Linked DNA regions of Homo sapiens: regions 1 and 3 are each linked to region 2. The links are contacts of gene promoters, found by promoter capture Hi-C in human tissues and cell types (Jung and others, 2019). All regions are on one chromosome and are shown on one strand. Each heading gives the region's core, a stretch centred on a gene start or on the middle of the fragment in contact. The rest is flanking DNA. Distances are from core to core; before and after follow the strand shown. Region 1 overlaps DDX46 (DEAD-box helicase 46). Region 2 holds the start of C5orf24 (chromosome 5 open reading frame 24). Region 3 overlaps DDX46 (DEAD-box helicase 46).

Region 1 (3,410 bases), core at 119-2,618, 38 kb before region 2:
TTGACAATGATTCAAATACTTCCTTTAAATCAATCCTTGAAGAGTACCTTTAAAATTTTAGGTAGTACTAAGAATTAATATTGGTAATTATTTACGTGCTAAACAGTGTATGTTAAACCCAGATTTTCTGTGAAATCTTCCATTGAAAGCATGAGTTTTAAGTTTTGAGAGTTTATCTTATTCCCTTCTCTATTACCAGAGTTTCCTGGGAACCTCATCATAAAATATTTTGTGGTCTGGGCATGTCGTAATAGAACTTTATGGTATTTTATACTCTGCTTTGCCATTCATACTAAACCTCTTTGGATCATTTATTTAAGAGATATCCATTTGGGTACTTCTAAACCAGTATTCCTAAAACTTTAATTTGCATATGATAATCACCTAAGGTTTTTTAAAATGCAGATTTTGATTCGGTAGTTTGGAGTATAACCCTAGATTCTGCATTTCCTTTTTTTTTTTTTTCCCCGAGACAGAGTCATGCTCTGTCGCCTGGGCTGGAGTGCAGTGGCGCAATCTCGGCTCACGGCAACCTTTGCCTCCCAGGTTCAGGCATGTGCCACCACGCCTGGCTTTTTTTTTTTTTTTTTTGTATTTTTAGTAGAGACGGGGTTTCACCATGTTGGTCAGGCTGGTCTCGAACTCCTGACCTCATGATCTGCCCGCCTCGGCCTCTCAAAGTGCTGGGATTACAGGCATGAGCCACCGCACCTGGCCTAGATTCTGCATTTCTAACAAGCTCCCAGGTGATGCTGCTCTGGTCCTTGGACAAAACCGAGTAGCAAGGCTCTAAATAACCTACAGGGAAAGGAGAAAGATCTAACTCTTGTCAATATAGGCTGAATGTTTCTGCCTTTTCTCGCTTTGGCTCCCAAACAGGTTTAGATTAATTTCTGATATTGGACCTTTGCAAATATAAACCTTATATAGAAGAAAGGGGGCAATACAAGACCAGAGTTGAAAGATTCATAAATGAGTTAATAGCAATAACCTTTAATCTTGCCATTACATTTTCTTAGTCTTTTATTTTCTATATTTTAGGAGTTGGATGTGTCAATTTGTTCTTCACTGAGTTTAGATTCTTGGTCAGAAGACATGGAAAATTTAATTTGAACATGTTTTAAAGCTCTCTAATTTACTTGCAGGCATTGATCAATATGACAGAGATAGCATCATAAATGACTTTAAGAATGGGACCTGCAAACTTCTTGTGGCTACCTCTGTTGCTGCCCGAGGTCTAGATGTGAAACATCTGATTCTTGTAGTAAATTATAGCTGCCCCAACCATTATGAGGATTATGTACACAGAGCAGGGCGGACTGGAAGAGCAGGAAACAAGGTAAAAATAAGTTTTTTATAGTTGATCTTCATTATATTAAAATACAGGTGTTTCTTTAGTATTTCAAGGAGTAGATAATAGGAGTTATGGAGACATTTTGAAAATCTTTAATCCACATAATGTGAAGAGTGGTTGATGTTAATAATTTATATACATGTACAGGTCTAAGTGTTGTTCAAATTATCAGATACCTAGCTGCTCTTTGTAGGCAGATCCTGTTAACAGTTTGTCTTCCCTTTTAGGTTTTTCCCCTCATGCCTAAACGTTTCTATACAGATGTTCCTTGATTTATGATGGGGTTACAATGTCCCGATAAACCCATCGTAAGTTGAAAATGCATTTAATATACCTGACGTACTAAACATCATAGTAGCCTAGCCTACCTTTAGCATGCTCAGAACACTTACATTAGGTTATACTTGGGCATCATCATCTAACACAAAGCCTATTTTATAATAAAGTATTGAATATCTCATGTAATTTACTGAATACTGTACTGGAAGTGAAAAACTGGTTGTATAGGTACTCAAAGTACAATTTCTACTGAATGCATATCACTTTTGCACCATGGTAAAGTTGAAAAATTATAAATTGAATCATTGTAAGTCGGGGACCATCTGTATACACATACACATAAATGTTTATACTTCAGGATCTTTTTTTAAAAAAAAACATGGGATCATAAAATATACCCATCTCCACACCTACCAATTTCTCCTACTCCCCTCTTTACCTCCCTATCATTCATACATACATATGTTACTTGCTTTTTTGACTCACCTGTATTCTAGAAACTGTATGGGTCTAACTCATTCCTTCTAGAGGCAGCAGACTAGTCTGTTGTTGGAGACATTGATTATGATATATTTAATTTTCTAACCCTGTACATTGCATAATAAAGCAATAAGTAGTATTTATATGCCATAGCTTACATTAATGGATAACGTATTATCTGCCATATATAATGTCATTTTAACTGTTTTACATATATAATGTTATTTTATCCTTACATATATAATGTCATTTTATCCTTAAAACGATTTAAGTGTTTTACATATGTAATGTCATTTTATCCTTAAAACTTTCCTTTGAGGTAAATAATATTACTCTATTTTATAGATGAGAAAAATTCATGCACATAGGATTTAGCTCACCTGCTTATGCACATTTAATAAGTAGTAATGGCATTTATTCTTCTAACCTGTTGGAAGGAGTCAAGAATATTTTTTTGGAAAGGGCCATGTACTGAAAATTGTAGCCTATTTGGGCTCTGTCACATATTCTTCTCTTTCTCTCTCCTTCTCTGTATATATATGTGTTATTGTATATATGTTCATAACCCTATAAAAATGTAAATACTTGTAGCCCCGTAGGAGTACAAAAGCAGACCATGGGTCAAAGGCAGTGGCTATTTAGATATTTCTGTTTTTGTTTTTGTTTTTTTGAGATGGAGTCTCGCTCTGTTGCCCAGACTGGAGTGCAGTGGCATGATCTTGGCTCACTGCAACCTCTCCCTCCCAGGTTCAAACGATTCTCCTGCCTCAGTGTCCCAAGTAGCTGGGACTACAGGCGTGTGCCACCACGCCTGGCTAATTTTTTGTATTTTTAGTAGAGACGGGGTTTCTACTAAAACCTGTGTTAGCCAGGATGGTCTCGATCTCCTGACCTCGTGATCTGCCCGCCTTGGCCTCTCAAAATACTGGGATTACAGGCATGAGCCACTGCACCCGGCCAAGATATTTCTGAATTAAAATCTTAAACCATGTTTTAAAATTCGTAACAGTTGGCCGGGCGCGGTGGCTCACGCCTGTAATCCCAGCACTTTGGGAGGCCGAGGCGGGCGGATCACCTGAGGTTGGGAGTTCAAGACCAGCCTGACCAACATGGAGAAACCCTGTTTCTACTAAAATAAAAATAAAAAATTAGCCGGGCATGGTGGCATATGCCTGTAATCCGAGCTACTCGGGAGGCTGAGGCAGGAGAATAGCTTGAACCCGGGAGGCAGAGGTTGCGATGAACCAAGATTGTGCCATTGCACTCCAGCCTGGGCAGCAGGAGCAAAACTCTTGTC
Region 2 (3,594 bases), core at 415-2,914:
ATATAAATAACACTAGCATGATTAATCCTGTTTTTTTAGCATTTTATTTTTTTGAGACAGGGTCTCACTCTGTTGCCCAGGCTGGAGTGCAGTGGCACAAACACAGCTTAAGGAAGCCTCAGTCTCCTTCCTCCTATCTCAGTCCTTCCTTCTGTCTCAGCCTCCGTAGCAGCTGGCACTACAAGTACTCATCACCACACCCAGCTAATTGTTTTATTTTTTGTAGAGACAGAATCTCTCTATATTGTCCAGGCTGGTCTCAAACTCCTGGCCTCCTGCTTTGGCCTCCCAAAGTCCTGGGATTACAGGTGTGAATCACTCCACCTAGTTGGAATGATGTTTAGAATCATGTTATGAATCTCCGTCTGCCAAAAAAATCCTAGCTTCCCAACCAGGGAATTCCACCTGAGCTTTGTGTCCAGAGTTTTTTGTTGTTGTTGTTGTTTGTTTGTTTGAGACGGAGTCTCGTTCTGTCCCAGGCTGGAGTGCAGTGGTGCGATCTCGGCTCACAGCAACCTCCACCTCCTGGGTTCAAGCGATCCTCCTGCCTCAGCCTTCCGAGTAGCTGGGATTACAGGTGCGCACCACCATGCCCAACTAATTTTCGTATTTTTAGTAGAGAAGGGGTTTCACCATGTTAGTCAGGCTTGTTTCGAACTCCTGACCTCGTGATCTGCCCGCCTCGGCCTCCCAAAGTGCTGGGATTACAGGCGTGAGCCACCGCACCCAGGCTGTCCAGAGTTTTTATTGGTGTAGGTTTGATCAACTGTTCACATGGCTTATCTGTCTCCAGTCCCTCAGTAGTTTGAATGAATGGGCTTGCTTGTTTCGTGTGTTGTGTCCTGGCTTGTGTGTTTGTCCAGAAAAGTTGTTTCTCCTCCTTTCTTTCCTACTGGCAGGGCAGTACCTGGCTCAGGGCTGTGCTTATGGTAGAACTCAGTTCTATGAATTGTCCATCCTCAAATATCCTTCATTACATGGGGGAAAAGGGCAAGCATCCTCCTCTAGCCTCTTCCCACTGCTTAATAAAGTGTCTCCCTTTCAGTAGCTGCCCTAATTCTGGATCCTCTCCATTCTGACATCTGGAAATTCACAGGAGGAAGGAGTGAGGAAATGAATCCCTTCTAAGTGGGTTTGTGTGAGGTGACTGATATGTCAGATATCTCACAAGAAAAACATAATAGCGGTAGTTTGTTGTTCCATCCTTTCCTGTGATTATGGAATAATGAATGCGACAATTCCTGGGGCGTGGTGGCTTACGCCTGTAATCTGCGTGGATCATAGGATGTCCCATAAAATAAAGCTTTTCATTATCACATGATCCTGGGCATGAAGAGTCCCAACTCCCCTGACTATCATTTATTTGTCCTGTATCTAAGAAATGGGGTCAGCAGGAGTTCCAGCATCTCAGAATTGTGGTGAAAACCAATACAAGTAAGGAAGTTATTAATTCCCCATTTGGTGGGTTCCTCAACCCCAGCCACTGGGGACGGTCCACGCCGGATCACCAGCAGCTCAGGCTTAAGGCCACGACGCGCAAGCGCAGCCTGCCAGCCTGGCTCCCTCCCAAAGCTTGCGTGCAGGTTGGCGGCGGGAGATCGGGTCTCGCGATGCGAGTGAGCGTGTGCGTGCGCGGCCCTCGCGAGCTCGCGCACGCCGCCTCTAACACTACAGGGTGGTAGCGGCCTCTTCGTACTGCGTCCGGGGCAGGACCGTGCGCGGCGGCCGCGGCGGGTGCTGGGAGCCAGCGCCTGCCTCGCCGCCGCCCTCGCTGCCTGCCACTCCGTCTTGGCCCGTTCTCCGCACCGTGCAGAGGCGGCGGGCTGGGGAGGGAGCGGCGCCAGCACGAGGTTCCCAGCCGCTGGGAAGCCCCTAGACGCGCCGAGGGGCCGGGCTACGAGCGGCTGAGGTAGGTAGGGGTGCGCGGGCTGGTCAGCCGGCCGGGAGCGGGGTAGGGCGGCGGCGAGAACGGGCGCCTCGCTGACCGGGGAGAAGAGGCCTCCTGCCAAGGGGCCCTAGTGTAGCCGGAGTGAGAGGAGGGGCCCCGGACGTAGCCTGCTCTTCCCCGGTGTGGAGCCATTACGGGGGGACATTCCTCCTGCGGCGGGGGGAGGGAGCCCCCTTTCTTTTCTTTGAGAGGTCAGAATCCGCAGTCCGCCCTTCGCCTTTAAATAAAAGCCTGCCGGCTCGAGATCGGCGTCGCGATGGAGTGCCCGTGGACTTCTACGCTTGCGGAACTCCGAGTGGACGGATAGCGGCTTATGAATTTTGCTTTTTAGAGGGTACACAACCCTTTCTCTAGGGTGGCGTGCATCTTCTGCAAACTTGTTATTGCCAATACGCTAATAGTCGCTTTCAGCACACAACAGGTAATACATTCTAAACGCCTCGTGTCAAAATAAGGAGAGTCCTTATTTGTGCACCGTGGGGCACAGTTAAGGAGCAGGAAGAAGACAAAGGAGGCCGTTATTTATGTGCCGTCCTATTATCAAAACTTTCCGTGGTGGGGCAGGGTGCGTGGCTATTGGCCTCTGCTGAATGGACTTTCAGAGTGATTGAGGTGAGTTGCAAATCTTCATTTAGAATTATGAAACGTATATGATTATACATAATAGTTAGTCAAATGACCTGAAATAAATCTCTGAGAATTACGTGATCTTTGATCTTTGGAGAACAGAACTTGGGTTTCTTGAAAGGAAGCTTTCTCCATGTTTAGAAAGCTTCAGGGATGCTTTGTGAAGTTACTAAAAATAGTTACATTTCTTTATGTTGGCAGTAATGACTGCCACATTCAAGAGAAGAGAAAGGAATTGTTCTATAAAGAACGGCTCATTTTAGGGGTTAAACTTTAGGAGTTAAACACAATAAAACAACTTCAAGGATGGTAAGTTTTAGCTTATGCTTTAAGTATTCGAATTTAGTCACAGTCCAAATATATAGAAGCTCTTAGTTGACTCCTGTACATTCAGGGAACTATTTATTGGTTGTTTTTGTTTGTTTTGTTTTTTTTGAAACGGAGTCTCACTCTGTCCCCCAGGCTGGAGTACAGTGGCGCGATCGCGGCTCACTGCAACCTCTGCCTCCCGGGTTCAAGCAATTCTCCTGCCTCAGCCTCCCAAGTAGCTGGGATTATAGGCATGCGCCACCACACCCAGCTAATTTTTGTATTTTTAGTAAAGATGGTGTTTAACCATGTTGACCAGGCTGGTCTCGAACTGCTGACCTCGTGATCCACCCTTCTCAACCTCCCAAAGTGCTGGGATTACAGGCGTGAGCCACTGCACCCGGCTTCAGTAACTATTTAAAAAGATGATCTTTAACCTTTGATAGTCTACACAACCTGTTCTATAACTCTTGGCTTCTATTCAGTCCACGCTGTCTGGAAATGTAGTATTCATCCTATTTTTTTTTTTTTTTTCCTGAGATGGAGTCTGTTTCCTAGGCTGGAGTACAGTGGCACGAACTCGGCTCACTGCAACCTCCGCCTTTGGGTTCAAGCGATTCTCCTGCCTCAGCCTCTGGAGTAGCTGGAGTTACAGGCACCCGCCACCATGCCTGACTAATTTTTTGGATTTTTAGAGAGAGGGTTTCGCT
Region 3 (3,666 bases), core at 206-2,705, 55 kb before region 2:
TATTAGATAGCACTTATTTTGGCACTTTTTATTTTTTGAAGAAAATGCTCTCAGAGGTTTCCATTGCAATATTTAGTGTGTACATAATAGAGTATTAAAAACTGAGTTAGTGCATGTTTCTAGTAGTATTCTGCTTGAATTTCTAATTCTAATTGTACATGAAGTTGGCAAAGTGACATCGAAATTGAGAAGTCATTGTGCTTGTCTAGCATATGGAAAGTTTTGGTTTGAATGCTGATTAAATAATCCCTTTTTTTTTTTCTCAATGCTGCATTGATTAAGTCTCCTCCTGAAATTCATCTTGATTAATTTTACCTTTTTCTCTTATCTGTCATTGTGGTCTATTTTTAAATAACTATTTTATACGTGTTTTTGCCAGGTGATTGATTCAACAGTTGATAGCAATGCTTCTGTTAATATTTTAGAAGGAATTTCCTATGTATGTATTTTGTTTTCACTGGTTAGGAAGCCAGTTGCATTTATTTAAGTCAGTGGGTTCACTTAATAAAATTGGGATTTATATCTTTGTATGGAAAATGTATTTATGTAATGTGTTTTGGTATTTAAAGTTTTTGTGTGATACTTTAATTTCCTAATGCTGTCAAATAGCTTCTCATTAAGGGTTTGACATGCCCATTTAAGAAGCTTCTAAATATATGGAAGTAGGTTATAAAATAATATAGAGAGACATTTTCTGTGTCTAAAATAGTTAGCACTAGAACTTGCTTTCCACACATACGCTGTAATCTCTAATATGTTTTTTTCTAGGTGATGCTGTCAGATAATGGCTGATGTGGCTCGATGCTTCATCTCAGTCTTAGTTTTATGATGTGTTTTGGAGAGGGCTGTTTTCTGAATTTTACAGGTTCTTCAGGCCCTATGATGGTATGCAAGAGACGAGTTTGACAAAATAAAGGGCCTCATATACCCATTGTCAGAAAGTATTTGCCACTAGATTAAGACATTGTAGATCAAAATTTCTTTTCACTTTTTAAAGATACCTAACTTACCCCTCTGGTTAAGTCAGGCATTTTAGTTTCCTTTACAGTTTTTAAAAGTTCTTGGTAGCCATAAAATGAATTGTGACTGATTTTTAGTTTTCTTTTTGTCTTTATTTTTCTTTTCATCTTAGGTCGGGTCACAAATCTTCGAAGAGTGACATATGTTGTTTTAGATGAAGCAGACAGAATGTTTGACATGGGTTTTGAACCCCAGGTAATCATTAAATTTCTTAAGTGTTTTGAAATGTAAATATAACTTTGTAGTTGCCATGAGAATGAAATGTTCATGTGGTTTCTGAAATTCACACACACACTTTTCTGTTGCACGGTAATACAGAAGACTGGGGACATACAGTATTGAAGTACATATTTATGTTTCAGATTCCTCACAAAACTTCTTCAGGAGGTATTTATACCGGCATTTCTTAGCCATCTAAGACCAACACCAACAAAGCTAGAATTGGAGTGCTAATAATAGAGCTTAAGCCTTATTTTTTTTTTTCAGATGGAGTCTTGCTCTGTCGCCCAGACTGCAGTGCAGTGGAGAACGATCACTACTCACTGCAACCTCTGCCTCCTGGGTTCAAGCGATTCTCCTGCCTCAGCCTCCCGAGTACCTGGGACTACAGGTGCCCGCCACCACGCCCGGTTAACTTTTTAATAGAGATGGAGTTTCACCACGTTGGCCAGGCTGGTCTCGAACTCCTGACCTCAGGTGATCCACCCGCCTTGGCCTCCCAAAGTGTTGGGATTACAGGCGTGAGCCACTGTGCCCGGCCCATTGTCTTTTTAAATAAATTCTTTTAATTCATGCTTTTAGATACCTCATTATCTAGTCTAGATAGCACGTCATTTACGTTTACCAAAGTCATTCACGTTTGCTAAGATAATGGCCCAAAGAATTTATCTAGCTTAGGTTTTTATGTTCCTTATATATGCTCTTTGCTCAGGTACAAAATTTCAGTGATACACATTTATAGGAACACATTTTAAAGGTGGTAGATGAGGTCAGGAGATCGAGACCATCCTGGCTTTCACGGTGAAACCTCATATCTACTAAAAATACAAAAAAATTAGCCGGGCTTGGTGGCAGGCGCCTGTAGTCCCAGCTACTCAGGAGGCTGAGGCAGGAGAATGGCGTGAACCCGGGCGGCGGAGCTTGCAGTGAGCTGAGATCACGCTGTTGCACTCCAGCCTGGGAGACAGAGCGAGACTCCGTCTCAAAAAAAAAAAAAAGTGGTAGAAGGTTTTCTTAAGAAGATCATTGTGAATTGTCAGTAGGCTGTAGTTGCCAAAAAATGAATAAAAAAGGATTATAAGAGACCATAGTAATGGAAATGTGCATGGAAAAGGGATAAGGCAAATGTCATATTTAGCCTTTTCAGTTTATCCATGTACTCTCCAAAAATTTATTGCCAGTTATATGTTAGTGCATGTATTGTATTTAGATTTAGGGACTGCATTCTAAATGAGATGTAAATAGAGGAACACAGAGGAAGCAGGATTATGGTAATGCTTGAACCATATGCGAAACAGTTAAAATGATATTTAGCTTTGGGCAGGGAATGGTGGCTCATGCCTTTAATCCCAGCAATTTGGGAGGCCGAGGCAGGCAGATCACTTGAAGTCAGGAGATCAGCCTAGCCTGGCCAACATCGTGAAACCCCGTTTCTACTAAAAATACAAAAATTAGCTGGACATGGTGACGGGCGCCTGTAATCCCAGCTACTTGGGAGGCTGAGTCAGGAGGATCACTTGAACCTGGGAGGCACAGGGTGTAGGGAGCCGAGATCGCATTACTGTACTTAAGCCTGGGTGATAGAACGAGACTTAGTCTCAAAAAATAATAATATAATAATAATAATAGTAATAATAATCAGCTTTGAGTAGAAGATAAGATAGCATCCTTTAACTCTGAACAAGTGTCACATGAAAGCAGCATTGAATTTATTTTTTTCATCCCAAGGAGTACAAATGGGATCCAGTGGGGAAGTCATATGGAGCTTGATCTGAGTTTAGTTTGAGGAAGGACTGAATAAACATTATTTGGAGAGGAAACATTGCTTCGTGAGGGAGCGGGGGCGGATATACTGAATATCTGTTTCTTCCAGGTGTTCAAGCAGAGTCAAGGGGTCTGTTTGTTGTGGTAAGAGAGTAAAGAGAATTGAAGTGTCAGATGGAACACAGTCACATGCCCTTTAATGTCTTTCCCAATCATGTGAAATCTTAGATTTTATTATAATGCTTTAAGTAGATAGAGTGATTGATAGGGACCTTCTGGTAAACCAAGTTCTTATAGAGTGAGTTCAACACAACATTTTCCATTGAAAGGCAAAGTGTGAATCATTCCTTGCCATAAATACATACAGGTACATAAGTACATATAAACAAAATAAATGATTAATTCAGCATTATCTCATGTATTTATGTCCGTGTATGTGCTTAGGTACATGTATGTGCGTATGTACATGTGTATAAGTACATGAGAGAGAAATGCTGAATAATTGTTTGTTGATAACTGAAAACCTGCTGGAGGCTTGGCGTGGTGATGTATGCTTAGGATCTCTGCACTTTGGGAGGTCGAGGCAGGTGGATTGCTTGAATTCAGGAGTTCAAGACAAGCAGGGGGCAACATGGCGAAACCTCGTCTCTACAAAAAAATATA

Evidence for each region. The method cuts DNA at HindIII sites, captures the fragments that hold promoters and counts their contacts. A contact is called where the count stands out against the background at its distance.
Region 1: a fragment that was not itself captured here is called in contact with the fragment with the promoter of C5orf24 in region 2 in 1 of the 25 tissues and cell types used here (thymus).
Region 3: a fragment that was not itself captured here is called in contact with the fragment with the promoter of C5orf24 in region 2 in 1 of the 25 tissues and cell types used here (lymphoblastoid cells).

The regions. Positions count from the first base shown.
Region 1 is chr5:134,806,603-134,810,012 of GRCh38, forward strand. It overlaps DDX46 (DEAD-box helicase 46), which reads left to right. Exons shown (of 23, transcript NM_001300860.2): 16 at 1,146-1,339. Among named protein-coding and RNA genes, the nearest start is that of C5orf24, 38 kb to the right of the region's middle. The HindIII fragment of the contact is 9,378 bases long and covers 1-3,410 here.
Region 2 is chr5:134,844,304-134,847,897 of GRCh38, forward strand. C5orf24 (chromosome 5 open reading frame 24) reads left to right here and starts at 1,665. Exons shown (of 2, transcript NM_001135586.1): 1 at 1,665-1,909. RefSeq lists an enhancer at 1,376-2,111 and silencers at 1,631-2,010, 2,041-2,090. The HindIII fragment of the contact is 2,814 bases long and covers 1-2,136 here.
Region 3 is chr5:134,789,338-134,793,003 of GRCh38, forward strand. It overlaps DDX46 (DEAD-box helicase 46), which reads left to right. Exons shown (of 23, transcript NM_001300860.2): 13 at 1,133-1,215. Among named protein-coding and RNA genes, the nearest start is that of DDX46, 32 kb to the left of the region's middle. The HindIII fragment of the contact is 3,195 bases long and covers 1-3,053 here.